Linked DNA regions of Homo sapiens: regions 1, 3, 4 and 5 are each linked to region 2. Evidence: promoter capture Hi-C in human tissues and cell types (Jung and others, 2019). All regions are on one chromosome and are shown on one strand. Each heading gives the region's core, a stretch centred on a gene start or on the middle of the fragment in contact. The rest is flanking DNA. Distances are from core to core; before and after follow the strand shown.

Region 1 (2,700 bases), core at 156-2,655, 400 kb before region 2:
TTTTATTGTTCTGTGAAGAACTGGAAAAGGTGGTATTGTGATGGGAATTCCATTAAATTTGTAGATTGCTTTTGTCAGTATGGTCATTTTCACAATATTGATTCTACCTATCCATGAACAAGGGACATGTTTCCATTTGTTTGTGCTGTCTCTGATTTCTTTCAGCAGGGTTTTGTAGTTTTCTTTGTAGAGGTCTTTCACCTCCTTGGTTAGGTGTATTCCCAAGTTTTTGTTGTTGTTGTTTTGTTTTTTTTTGCCGCTATTGTAAAAGGGGTTGAGTTCTTGGTTTGATTCTCAGCTTGGTCGCTATTGGTGTACAGGACAGCTGCTGATTTGTGTACATTAATTTTGTATCCAGAAACTTTGCTGGAGTTCTAGGAGCTTTTTGGAGGAGTCTTTAGGGTTTTCTAGGTATACAATCATACCATCAGCAGAGACAGTTTGACTTCCTCTTTACTGATTTGGATGCACTTTATTTCTTTCTCTTGTCTGATTGCTCTTTTTAGAACTTCAAGTACTTATGTTGAAGAGAAGTAGTGAGATTGGGCATCCTTGTCTTGTTCCAGTTCTCAGAGTGAATGCTTTGAACTTTTCCCCATTTAGTATTATGTTGGCTGTGGGTTTGTCATAGATGGCTTTTATTACATTGAGTTATGCCTCTTGTATGCCGATTTTGCTGAGAGTTTAAATCATAAAGGGATGCTGGATTTTGTTTAATTTGCTGTGTCTATTGAGATGATCATGTGATTTTTGTTTTTAATTCTGTTTATGTGGTGTATCACATTTATTGATTTGTATATGTTAAATCATTCCTGCATCTCTGGTATAAAACCCACTTGGTCATGGTGGATTATCTTTTTGATATGTTGTTGGATTAGGTTAGCTAGTATTTTGTTAAGGATTTTTGCATCTATGTTCAACAGGGATATTGGTCTGTAGTTTTCTTTTTTGTTTATGCCTTTCCTGGTTTTTGTATTAGGGTGATAGCGGCTTCATAGAATGATTTAGGGAGGATTCCCTCTTTGTCTTGTGGAATAGTGTCAATAGGATTGGTACCAATTCTTCTTCGAATGTCTGGTAGAATTCAGCTTTGAAACCATCTGGTCCTGGATTTTTCTTGTTGTTGTTGTTGTTAATTTTTAAATTACCATTTCAATCTCACTGCTTATTATTGGTCTGTTCAGGGTATCTAATTCTTTCTGATTTAAGCTAGGAGGTTAGTATCTTTCCAGGAATTTATCCGTCTCATCTAGGTTTTCTAGTTTTTGTACATAAAGGTGTTTATAGTACACTTGAATGATCTTTTGTATTTCTGTGGTCAGTTGCAGTATCTCCTGTTTTGTCTCTAGTTGAGCTTATTTGGATTTTCTCTCTTCTTTTCTTGGTTAATCTTGCTAATGGTCTATCAATTTTATTTATCTTTTCAAAAAACCAGCTTTTTGTTTCACTTTCGTATTTTTTTTTGTTTGTTTCCATTTCATTTAGTTCTGCTCTGATCTTATTTCCTTTCTTCTGCTGGGCTTGGGTTTGGTTTGTTCTTTTTTCTCTAGCTCCTCGAGGTGTGACCTTAGATTGTCTGTTTGTGCTCTTTCAGACTTTTTGATGTATGCATTTAGGGCTATGAACTTTCCTCTTACACCTTTGCTATATCCCAGATGTTTTGATACGTTATGTCACTATTGTAATTTAGTTTGAAGAGATTTTTAATTTCCATCTTGATTTCATTGTTGACCCAATGATCGATCATTCAGGAGCAGATTATTTAATTTCCATGTATTTGCATGGTTTTGAAAGTTCCTTTTAGAGTTGATTTCCGGTTTTATTCCACTGTGGTCTGAGAGAGTGCTTGATATAATTTCAATTTTATTAAATTTATTGAGGCTTTTTTATAGCCTATCATATGGTCTATCTTGGAGAAAGTCCCATGAGCTGATGAGTAGAATGTATATTCTGAGGTTTGTGGGTAGAATGTTCTGTAAATATGTTAAGTTCATTTATTCCAGGGTATAGTTTAAATCCATTTTTTTTGTTGACTTTCTGTCTTGATGACCTGTCTAGTGCTGTCAGTGGAGTATTGAAGTCCCCCACTATTATTTTGTTGCTGTCTATTTCATTCCTTAGGTCTAGTAGTAAATTTGGGAGCTTCAGTGTTAGATGCATATATATTTAGGATTGTGATATTTTCCTGTTGGACAAGGCCTTGTATCATTACATAATGATGTCCTTCTTTGTCTTTTTTAACTGCTGTTGCTTTAAAGTTTGCTTTGCCTGATATAAGAATAGCTACCCCTGCTTGCTTTTGGTGTGCATTTGTATGGAATATCTTTTTCCACCCCTTTAAGTTTATGTGAGTCCTTAAGTGTTAGGTGAGTCTCTTGAAGGCAGCAGATGGTTGGTGAATTCTTATTCATTCTGCAATTCTGTTATCTTTTAAGTGGTGCATTTAGGCCATTTATATTCAATGTTAGTATTGAGATGTGAGGCACTATTCCATTCATCATGCTATTTGTTGCCTGTATACTTTTTTTTTAATCTTTAATTGTATTTTTGTTTTATAGGTCCTGTGTGATTTATGCTTTAAAGAGGTACTGTTTTGATGTGTTTCCAGGATTTGTTTCAAGATTTAGAGCTCCTTTTAGCATTCTTGTAGTGCTGGCTTGGTGTAGTGGCAAATTCTCTCCGCATTTGTTTCTCTGAAAA
Region 2 (2,913 bases), core at 339-2,838:
AAGGGGGCAGTAAGGATTCTCATTATAGGACTGGCCGGGAATGGTGTGACCACTGATTCAGGAAGTGGGGAAGACGGGAAGAGACTTCAAGTGTGGGGGGAGCCAATTCAGATAGGAGGTGGCCTAGACAAGGTGAGGGCATCTCAAAGCGACACCAAGCCTGGGTGAGATCACGTCTGGAGCCACAGAAGGATGAAGCAGTTTATATTTAAATGCCATGGCAAAACAACATCCCCACCATTACACCCTCCATTCTCATTCAAGTTCTTCGGGAGAAAGGAAAAATATGGTCGGGTTCATTGCTATTCAGTTTTGAAGTTGAGCCTGCATTTGGACACAGGCGCTTGGGAGAGTGGGTCATTTTCTTTGACACAATTATTAAGGAAACCGTTTTAAATGATTCCTTGAGTCCCCCAATGGCCCAGGTGGAAGGTGCTGTTTCCTGGTACCTGTCCAGCCCTCTGAGCTTTTCTCTCAGCTTCCAAACGCTGCAGTTGAGAACTAGCAGATCCTATTGGTAGTGCCCTGTGGCCCACACTCCTTGGTAACGGTGAGAGTGGGGAGTAATTAGGAGCGGCTGCCATGGGCCAGGCATTCAGGTCAAGGCCGAGGATGGTGGCCAGGGCCACAGAGCCAGGGGACGGGTGGGGACCCAGCAGGCCTGCGGCTGGCCGCTTGCTGAGCGCTCCAGCAGCGGGGCCCTGGGCGGATGAAGGGCCGGAGAAGGCCCTCTGCTGGGGCCGCGGCGATCTTGCAGCGCCTGGACACCGAGGCTGGGGCACTAACGGTCCGTGGGGCTCCCGACGTATTCCTCTAACTTCCCCTTTCTGTCCTTTCGGTCTGGGGCCTTTTCAACACCCCCTGTGGCCGGGGACAGCTGGGGCAGAAACCGGCAGGCGGCAGAAGCCTCAAGCAGCTCTGACCTCTGGCACCTCCCCAAGACCCAGAGCACAACATCTGTCCCCAGAAATCCCCGGGCGGAGAAGAGCGCGCGCCAAGCCCTTCCTGGGTACTCAGTATTCTCCCTTCCTGGGAACAGCCTGCCCTCTGAGGCCTGGGCACCCGGGTTCCCGAGCGCCGGGTCCCAGCCCCGCGGGGGCGCCTCCGCACCCCATCTCCGCGCCCGGCGCAGAGCCGCCAGTCTCCGCCGCGGGGCCCCGTGCCCCGCAGCGCCACCTAGGGGCCGGGCGCCGCCTCCCGCCCTCAGGGGCACCCCCCTTACTCCGCAAGGACTCCGGGTCTCCCCAGTTCTCCCGGCAGCCGGACCCTCCCAGCCTCGGCCGCCGGGCCGCCCTCCGCATCCCAAGCCCGCCTCCCGTGCCTCCCCGGGGGCGCACCGGCAGCGAGGAGCGGCTCGGCGAGGGCGCGCAGCGGCGGCCCAGGCCCAGGCCTTGGGGCTGGGGCTGAGGGGGTGAGAGCAGGCGCGGCCGGCGGGCAAGGGGAACCGGGCGATGGCAGCGGCGGGCGGCCGCGGGAGGCGAGGCAGCGGCGGCGGCGGGCGGCGCGACGAGCCCCTGTGATTGGCACAGCCGGAGCCGGAGGAGGAGGCCAGGGGAGGGCGGAGGCGGGGGAGGAGGAGGAGGAAGGGGCGATCGCGGCGGCGGCGGCGGCGGCGAGGAGCTGTGCCTTCCACCTCTCCAGCCCCGGCAGGACGGGGGCGGCCGCCGCGAACCCGGGGCGGGGACAGCACGCAGCCTCGAGGCGCGCACCCCCGCCCGGCAGCGGCCCCGACACCCGGGGCGAGCGGGAAAGCGGCAGCGGCGGCGGCGGCGGCGGCGGCGGGGGAAGGATGCAGGGGAAGAAGCCGGGCGGTTCGTCGGGCGGCGGCCGGAGCGGCGAGCTGCAGGGGGACGAGGCGCAGAGGAACAAGAAAAAGAAAAAGAAGGTGTCCTGCTTTTCCAACATCAAGATCTTCCTGGTGTCCGAGTGCGCCCTGATGCTGGCGCAGGGCACGGTGGGCGCCTACCTGGTGAGTCCCCGAGCCAACTCCGCCGCGGGCCCCTTCCCCAGCCCGGCTCTCGAGCGGCCGCCTGGCCCGACGAGGGGGCCGCCCGGCGCTGGGGGCAGGCGGGCATGACCTCGGCCCGGCGTGGAGGTTGGCGAGTGGTGCAGAGGCGGCCGCCGGGGGAGCTGCCGGCCGGGGCTGCCAGCGAGCGGGTAGCGGGCGGGACCGTTGATGCCGGTAGCAGCTCGCGCGCGTCCGGCTGGGGCAGGGGGTGCCGGGGGAGGAGAGGCGGCGGGCAGGTGGGCGTGAAACTATTCCTCTCCCCCCATAAGAGCGGAGCGAGACGGTGAGTTCAGGGTTCTCCTTGGAGAGGAACGAAAAAGCGTCGGGGTTTTCAGGTGACCTGCACATGGGAAGAAAAACCAGTTAGCATCCTGCGTCCTCTACTCTCCATTGCATCCTCCTCGAGAACAAATCTATTATGCATCATTTTCTCCGGGCGCTTTCTACATCCGCCAATTACAGGGGGATATAACAGCTTAGAGTGAAATGCGCCCTAGTGTGGCCCTGGCCTGAGCCGGGGCTGCAGGGGGAATATTGCCACCCGGTATCCCTATAGCCCTCTTTGAGCGTCTGGGATAAAGTTACGGTACCTAGAGAGCAGCTGCGAGTTTGTGTAGTTCCTGCTATCCACTCTTAGTGCTAAATTCCCCATCGTGGTCTGTCGCCTACAGAAGGTTGCACCATTTTCCACAATGAATATGTATTTTATTTGCCTCCAGAAAGGGGATGTTAATGCTCAGAGGGCCCATGGGTGCGTAACATTTCAGAGGAAACAGCTTGTAATGACTCAGCACTGTCAGGTACCTACTTTGTCGCTTTCGCCTCCTCTGCTCAGGTGGTCGCAACTTGAGTTCCAGAGAGCGTGCTTCCACACCTAAGTACAGTCCTGTCTAAACGGGAAATTT
Region 3 (2,700 bases), core at 27-2,526, 450 kb before region 2:
GTTTTCTTACTATTTTGTAGTTTCTTTGTCCTGTTACTCCTCTCTTGCTGGTCTTCCTTTCTGATTTGATAATTTTTTTTGTGATGGTATGCTTTGAGTTATTTCTCTTTATGTTTTGTGTTTCTACTACAGGCTTTTTCCTTTGTGCTTACCATAAAGCTTACATAAAACATCTTATAGTTACAACAATCTATTTTAAACTCATAACAACTTAACTTCAACTACATATAAAAAATCTACATGTTAACTTTTCCTCCTTCCACATTTTATGTTACCGAGGTCACAATTTACATCTTTTTATATAGTGTATTCATTAACAAACTATTGTAGCTGTATTTTTTTTGTGACTGTCTTTTAACTTTTATACTAGTCTTAGAAGGGATTTATATATCACCATTACCATATCAGAGTATTATGAATTTGAGTATATTCTTATCTTTACAGTGAGTATTATATTTTTATATGCTTTTGTGTTGTTAGCATCCTTTTGTTTCAACTTTAAGAACCCTTTTTAACATTTCTCATAAAGCAGGTCTAGTGTTAACAAACTACATCAGCTTTTGTTTGTCTGAGAAAGTCCTTATCTCTCCTTTGTTTCTGAAGGCCAGCTTTACTGGGCATAGTATTATTTTTTTTCTTTCACTATTTTAATATACATTATTCCAATTTCTCCTGGATGCAAGGTTTCAGCTGCAAAATCCACTGATAATCTTATGAGGGCTTTCCTTTTATGTGATGAGTCACTTTTCTCTTGCTGCTTTCAAAATTCTTTGTCTATTTTGAGAATTTGATTATATAATATGTCTTGGCAAAAACTATTTTATGTTTAATTTATTTAGGGTTCTTTGGGCTTCACGGATCTGTATGTTTATTTCCCTCTTTAGATTTGAAAAGTTTTATATTCATTAGAGAAGTTCCTTTCTCTGCTCCTTCTGGAACTTCTATAATGAGTATATTGCTTTGCATAGTAGTGTACTATATTTCTATATTATTTCTTCAATTTTTAAGTTTTTTCCTTATTATTTCTCTGACCGAGTACTTTCGAGTGACTTATCATTGAGTTCATTGATTCTTCCTTCTTATTGGTTGAGTCTGAAGTTGAAGCTCTATGTGGAATTTTTAAGTTCATCCATTGTGTTCTTCAGCTCCAGAATTTCTATTTTTTTTAATGGTTCCTATATTTTTGTTGAATTTTTAATTTTGTTTATGTATTGTTTTTCTGGCTTCATGTAGTTGTCTACCTGTATTATAGCTCACTGAACTTTTTTGAGATGATTATTTTGAATTATTTGTTAGGCAGTTCATACATCTTTATTTTTTTAGGGTTGGTTACTGGTGCTTAATTTTGTTCCTTTGATAGCGTCATGTTTCTCTGATTAATTGTGGTCCTTATAGCCTCGTAATGATGTCTGTACATTTGAAAAAGAGCCAGCTTTTTCATTCTTGACAGATTGCTTTTGGCAGGGAAAGCCCTTCACCAGTCAGCACATCCAGAGATTCTGGGTGGTTCAGCTAGCAGGGTTCATGGGTGAACTTGCTGCTGAAGTCCTTGTACATGTTGGTCTGGTGCCTAGGTCCACAGGGTCTGATCTGTTACCTGAGTCTGTGGGGTTGTGTCTAGAGCTTGGGTCCATGGGTATAGGCCTGGGTTCTGGGTCCATGAGGTCTGGTACGGCACTGGGGACTCTTGAGGTGGGCCTGATGACTGGATCCATGGGGACAGGCCTGGAACCTGAGTCTGTGTGGGTGGCCCTGGGAGCTGGGGCCATGAGGGCCAGCCTGGCATTGGGGTTGGCCTGGGGCCTGGCTGGGGCTATAGGGACCAGCCAGGTGTTGAAGTGAGTTTGGATCCTGGGCTGCAGTGGGTGGCCTGGTGCTGAGATGGGTCTGGAGCCTGGAGCCGTGGATACTGACTTCATGCTGGGGTTCACTGTGGTGGGCCTGGTGCTGAGTCCATGAAAACAGGCCCAGAGCCTGAGTCTATAGTGACCAGCGTGGAGCCTAGGGCAGCCATAAATGGCCTGGTTCTGGGGAAGGCCTGGAGCCTATGTTCATAAGAGCTATGGAGGTTGGAGCCATTGGGTCTTAGAGCCGTAAGGGGACAGCCTGGAGCTTGGGTTTACAGGGACTGTCCTGTAGCCTGTGGCTATAGGAACCTGCCTGGTGTTGAGTTCACTGAATCGTGCCTGGCATTGGAGTCCATGAAGTCAGGTGTTAACTTTACTCTCCTTCCCCCACATATATAGTATCTCTTTCCATGTTGCACTGCCCAGGTTTTGGGGCAGGGTAATGCAGATAATATGAAACTGTCTTTTCTACTCTCTTTAATGCACCTTTTCTTATTTCTCTGCTCCACAAAGGTGCTATAACCTCTCAGCTGGATTCCTTGTCTCTTATGAAGATATTTTCATGCACAGATGGCTGTTCAAATTGATGTTTCTGTGAAGGGATAAGTGCTGAAAACTTCTGTTTTGCCATTTTGCTCATGTCATTCTCCTCCGTTAACTTAAAAATATTTTTTGCTGCACTTTCTTGAATAACATATTGTTGAAAATTATCAGACCCTTGGCTTGGTTGTTGAAGTTCCTCCTTTAGAGCAAGTTCCTCTTATAGTTCTCTGTAGACACACTATAGTTGTAAAATGTTTGTAGAGATAATATTTTGTGTGTAGAATTAAGGACAAATTACACACAAATGTTT
Region 4 (2,700 bases), core at 132-2,631, 280 kb before region 2:
GTGCACTCCAGCCTGGGTGACGGAGTGAGACTCTGTCTCGAGAAAGAAGGAAGGAAAGAAGGAAAGAAAGAAGGAAAGGAAGGAAGGAAGGAAAAGGAGGGAGGAAGGAAGGAAGAGAAAGAAGGAGGGAGGAAGGGAGGAAGGAAGGGGAAGAAAGAGAGAAAGAAAAGAGAGAGAGAGAAAGAAAGAAAGAGGTCAAAGAGTTCTGCATTTCCCTGACTTCATTCTCTAGTAGATCCTAAGCCCTTTTCTTTAAATAAAGCCCTTCATCTGCCCTAGAAAGGATAAAGATGAAAGAAAACTCTGTTGGCAGTATGGTTGATATTGCAGAGCAGTGGGAAAAGTAGTGAAGCTAATTTTGAGGAAAAACGCTTTTCATAAAAGAAGGAAAAACATGCAGGCCAAACTGATGACACTAGACCAGGTGGAGAGAGATAAAGTCAGTACAATACAAGAAAGGCAGGTTTGACTTAAGATGGCGAATGAAACCTGCTGATCAGGTAAAGTTGAGGATATTGGACCTTGTGCAGTGACGGAGAATGTCACCACAATACTCCTAGTGGTGTCTCAAACAGGAGAAATTACGGGAGAATACTTACAGAAGTTTAGAGCCTGGGCTGAACAGTTTTAAGGAAGATCTGCAAGATGAGGAACTGGTTGGGACTGGGCATAGCTTAGGGCTTAACAGCTTTTTGGATTGGTCGGCATAGCATGGTCGCCTGAAGTGAACCTAATAAGCAAGTTGTAAGCCTTGACCAAAAACGCAAACAAAATTAAGGAACTCAGACAGGTGTGGTGGCTCATTCCTGTAACCCCAGCACTTTGGGAGGCTGAGGCAGGAGGATTGCTTGAGCTCAGGAGTTCGAGACCAGCCTGAACAACATGGCAAAACCCATTTCTACAAAAAATACAAAAATTACCCAGGCGTGGTAGTGCATGCCTGTAGTCCCAGTTACTCTGGGGGCTGAGGTGGGAGGATCACTTGAGCCCAGGAGGTCAAGGCTGCAGTGAGCCATAATTGCACCACTGCACTCCAGCCTGGATGTTGAAAGGAGACCCTGTCTCAGTAAATAAATAAATAAATATTAAAAAAATTAAGGAACTCATTTACAATATGCTTCCTAATATTTTAGATTACCTAGTTTGATTTAAAAAATAGATCTCTAATGGTTCAAACATTTCTAAAATCTGATTTAAGATGAGTGTCAAAGAGCAAAGGCACAACTACAATGCTGAAATATTTTAAATTCATCATCAGCTCATCCTCTAAATTCTGTAGTTTATTTACCCTGAGTATATGTATGATACAGTTGACCCTAGCAGCAGGCTCCGCATCCATGGATTCAACCAGCAGTAGATCAGAAATATTCAAAAAAAAATAACAATGCAACAATAAAAATAATATACATTTGAAAACAATACAGTGCAACAACTATTTACATTGTATCACATAGTAAAGTAATCTGCAGATGATGTAAGTATGTATAGGAGGATGTACATAGATTATACTCAAATGTTAGGGCATTTTATATAAATGACTTAAGCATCTGTAGATTTTGGTATCTGCAGGGGATCCTGGAACCAATCATCTGTGGATACTGAGAGACAACTGTATGTATAAATTTTGTGAACTCCATCTTATTTTTGATTGATAGAATATCACTGCTTACTTTGAAATGATTATGCATTACTTTAATCACAACCAATTCCAGAATATTTCTGTTCATTGGTGCCTTCATGTAGAACAATATTTTTAATAATGCTTTCCACCACCAAAATTTGTATTTGTAGTATTATCTCAAAAACCAACAACTTTTCCATCAATGTTTAATTTTAAAATTGACTTTACAATGCACTTACGAGAATTTAAAATGATTCACTTTTGATAGGATGCATTTCAAAAAGCTTTGTTACAATTTCATAAATTAGGTGGAAAAATTGAACCGCTTAAGGACTCACCCCAACTCATTTTCTATTTGAAGCATCTCATGCTTGCAAAGGTCTTCTTCTATTAATGGTATTAACACATTAACAGCTGTTGCTTTACTTTTTTATAGGCACAAGAAAAGTTGGAATAAAAGTAAGAAAAATTATTTCAGAAGTGTCTAAGCTAAATGTGATTATTTTGTTTGATCTGAATGAGAAATCATGCTTCAGTGTGATATGTAAATACACTGTGTGCAGAGTGGCACATGGTAATAACTTGTCTGCAGGTACAGTCTTCTTAAAATAGAATCTTCAATTGATCCTAAAGGTTCAAGTTTGTTGCAGCTGGAAAAATATGTAGATTTAATTATTTGCATTTGTGTCCCACATACTAGAAGCCATGAGTGAAGGTGAAGATACAAAGTGAAAAATCTATTAAATCCACCCAGCTTATGTTGCTGTAACTGTTAATAATAATACTTTATGAGAAAATGAAGTCTGGGCAAACACAAAAATAGACAAGACCTCAGGACGACAGAGATAAACTGAAATTATTCTAGGAAAACCAGATTATGTGGTCGCCCTACCTCCACCTCCACCTTGATCCATCTCTCTCCAAAAAAGGTCTCCTTTTCTCTACAGATCTGAATAAGATGGCCCATCCTCTTGCCTTACAAAAGCCCAATGCCCTTTCCAAAATGTTTCTGGATACCATGGCCTTGCATTCTCATGGTCACCTCTAGCCCTAAATTTCTGATTCTTCTGAATTGTTTT
Region 5 (2,700 bases), core at 122-2,621, 510 kb before region 2:
AGCCAGACATAAAAGTGTTAAGTGAGTTGCCTGTGATTTTGAGTTATCTCATGTCAGCTTTCCTTTCTCAAGGTACTGAAAGAAGACACGTTTCACTGCTTTCTAAAGAACTTCTGACTGGGCATGAAGGAGTGAACCAACTGATCAGGAAATTGCCAGTCTTCAAAAGGCCTCATTGCCAGTGGAAAGAGGAGAAACAGAAAAAAATGACCCTGCAGAAAGCAAATGCTCTGATGATTCATGCATTATTTGCAATTTTTTTGAATAAGAGCTAAAAACTAAACACTACTTGAGGCTGGGAATTTCTCTGGGGGAAAGAATAAAGAGTTATTTCCCTCTCAGGACAACACCTAATATTTGCACAGCACGGTAAAGTAATTTTCACAAGTATTATTTTGTTTGTGCATTTTCATCCTCAGGCTGAATTAAGCCTCAGTTTTCATTTTTGATTGAATCTGTCTTTGCTGATAGAAGTTTTCTGGGTGACCCAGACAGTCCTCAGTATGAGATAATGTGATGGAGGATGCAGTGAATCAATCACGTCTCTGCTGGAATTGCTTTCTGGAGACTTTGAGATGTCAGGGTTGAAATGTCACACAGGAGGTCACTGGGCTGGTAGATAACTGGAGATATGACTCCATGAAGGCATTGCTTATCCATGTTCCAAGCATATCTGGCTTCTTTTGAGAGGTAAATAGGGATGGATGAAGAGGAGGAGAGTTAGTCCTGAATTTGTACCCTGGCTCTGCCACTTACCAGCTCTACTGCTCTTGCTAGGGAGATCATGTTAACATATTAACGCCAATAATAATCACTGAAGGTTATGAGTCCTATAAAGTAAGTAGCATTCGCCCTATTTTATAGAAGAGGATACAGCATCAGAAAAGTTAATTGCTTTCCCTAAGTTCCCTGGGCACATTTATTTCTTTATTTTTATTTTTTCATTATACTTTAAGTTCTGGGGTACATGTGCACAACATGCAGGTTTGTTACACATGTATACATGTGCCATGTTGGTGTGCTGCACCCATTAACTCGTCATTTACATTAGGTATTTCTCCTAATGCTTCCCACCCACCTCCCCCACCTCATGACAGGCCCCGGTGTTTAATGTTCCCCACCCTGTGTTCAAATGTTCTCATTGTTCAATTCCCACCTATGAGCGAGAATATGTGGTGTTTGTTTTTCTGTCCTTGTGATAGTTTGCTCAGAATGATGGTTTGCAGCTTCATCCACATCCCTACAAAGGACATGAACTCATCCTTTTTCATGGCTGCATAGTATTCCATGGTGTTTATGTGCCACATTTTCTTAATCCAGTCTATCACTGATGGACATTTGGGTTGCTTCCAAGTCTTTGGTATGGTGAATAGTGCCACAATAAACATACGTGTGCATGTGTCTTTATAGCAGCATGATTTATAATCCTTTGGGTATATACCCAGTAATGGGATTGCTGGGTCAAACGGTATTTCTAGTTCTAGATCCTTGAGGAATCTTCCACAGTGGTTGAACTAGTTTACAGTCCCACCAACAGTGTAAAAGTGTTCCTATTTCTCCACATCCTCTGCATCACCTGTTGTTTGCCGACTTTTTAATGATCGCCATTCTAACTGGTGTGAGATGGTATCTCATTGTGGTTTTGATTTGCATTTCTCTGACGGACGGTGATGATGAGCATTTTTTCGCGTGTCTGTTGGCTGCATAAATGTCTTCTTTTGAGAAGTGTTTGTTCATATACTTCGCCCACTTTTTATGGGGTTGTTTGATTTATTCTTGTAAATTTGTTTAAGTTCTTTGTAGATTCTGGATATTAGCCCTTTGTCAGATGGGTAGATTGTAAAAATTTTCTCTCATTCTGTAGGTTGCCTGTTCACTCTGATGGTGGTTTCTTTCGCTGTGCAGAAGCTCTTTAGTTTAATTCGATCCCGTTTGTCTATTTTGGCTTTTGTTACCATTGATTTTGGTGTTTTAGTCATGAAGTCCTTGTCCCTGGGCACATTTATTAGCTGAATGCAAACTCAGGCTTTGTGATGCCACACCCTGTGAGTACTCCATCACATCATCACTGTCTTCCCCAAATGGGTGTGGCCATATAATTGGACGCAAGAGAGACCCATTGTTAAGGAATGTCAGCCACATCAAGAAGTGGTTTGAGCTCCCAGCATACTGCCCAAAAGTAAAGCTCACAGGTATTCTGTTGAGTGGTTTGCATAACTAAAAAAGACGGGGTGATAGTGCTTTGATGTTGGCCAATAACAACAAGACCCTTCTGTTCTCTTTTGTCCTATATTCTCTCTCAAATTCTGTGCTCTGATTAGTGGCTGAATCTCTTGTTTCTACCAAATGATTTAATTCATGTAAACAAGCATATTTTTATGTAGCATTGCCTCTGCCTCTGAAAACTTAGGGAAGTAACATCGTTCCAATTATTGGTTAAAAAAAGGGAGAGCAGAGCCATCTTCCATAAGATTATTGGAGAGATTACTGTGACAATGTGTTTATAGTGCTTAACACAGTGCTGGGACAGAATAGCACCTGTTTTCAGTCATAACTATTATTGGTGCAGTTTGAAACTAGCTGTGCTTGCAAGTACATCACTTGGCCTCAAACCTTCACAACTAGCTGCCAATGTATCTGCAGCAACACCCAGCTCCAATGCACACAATTTCTAAAGTGTCTGACGTCAGGGTTTTGGAT

The links. Contacts are between HindIII fragments. The study calls those that stand out against the background at their distance.
Region 1: a fragment that was not itself captured here is called in contact with the fragment with the promoter of SLCO3A1 in region 2 in 2 of the 25 tissues and cell types used here (bladder and mesendoderm cells).
Region 3: a fragment that was not itself captured here is called in contact with the fragment with the promoter of SLCO3A1 in region 2 in 1 of the 25 tissues and cell types used here (dorsolateral prefrontal cortex).
Region 4: a contact is called between a fragment that was not itself captured here and the fragment with the promoter of SLCO3A1 in region 2, in 2 of the 25 tissues and cell types used here (hippocampus and thymus).
Region 5: a contact is called between a fragment that was not itself captured here and the fragment with the promoter of SLCO3A1 in region 2, in 2 of the 25 tissues and cell types used here (mesendoderm cells and thymus).

The regions. Positions count from the first base shown.
Region 1 is chr15:91,452,052-91,454,751 of GRCh38, forward strand. All of the region lies in intron 2 of LOC107984778 (a long non-coding RNA gene), which reads right to left. Among named protein-coding and RNA genes, the nearest start is that of CRAT37, 9.9 kb to the right of the region's middle. The HindIII fragment of the contact is 7,286 bases long and covers 1-2,700 here.
Region 2 is chr15:91,852,120-91,855,032 of GRCh38, forward strand. SLCO3A1 (solute carrier organic anion transporter family member 3A1) reads left to right here and starts at 1,589. Exons shown (of 10, transcript NM_013272.4): 1 at 1,589-1,969. The coding sequence starts at 1,790. RefSeq lists silencers at 1,011-1,185, 1,054-1,193. The HindIII fragment of the contact is 13,420 bases long and covers 1-2,913 here.
Region 3 is chr15:91,398,115-91,400,814 of GRCh38, forward strand. No RefSeq gene overlaps it. Among named protein-coding and RNA genes, the nearest start is that of CRAT37, 64 kb to the right of the region's middle. The HindIII fragment of the contact is 5,816 bases long and covers 1-2,700 here.
Region 4 is chr15:91,573,324-91,576,023 of GRCh38, forward strand. No RefSeq gene overlaps it. Among named protein-coding and RNA genes, the nearest start is that of CRAT37, 110 kb to the left of the region's middle. The HindIII fragment of the contact is 7,693 bases long and covers 1-2,700 here.
Region 5 is chr15:91,343,849-91,346,548 of GRCh38, forward strand. No RefSeq gene overlaps it. Among named protein-coding and RNA genes, the nearest start is that of CRAT37, 120 kb to the right of the region's middle. The HindIII fragment of the contact is 7,776 bases long and covers 1-2,700 here.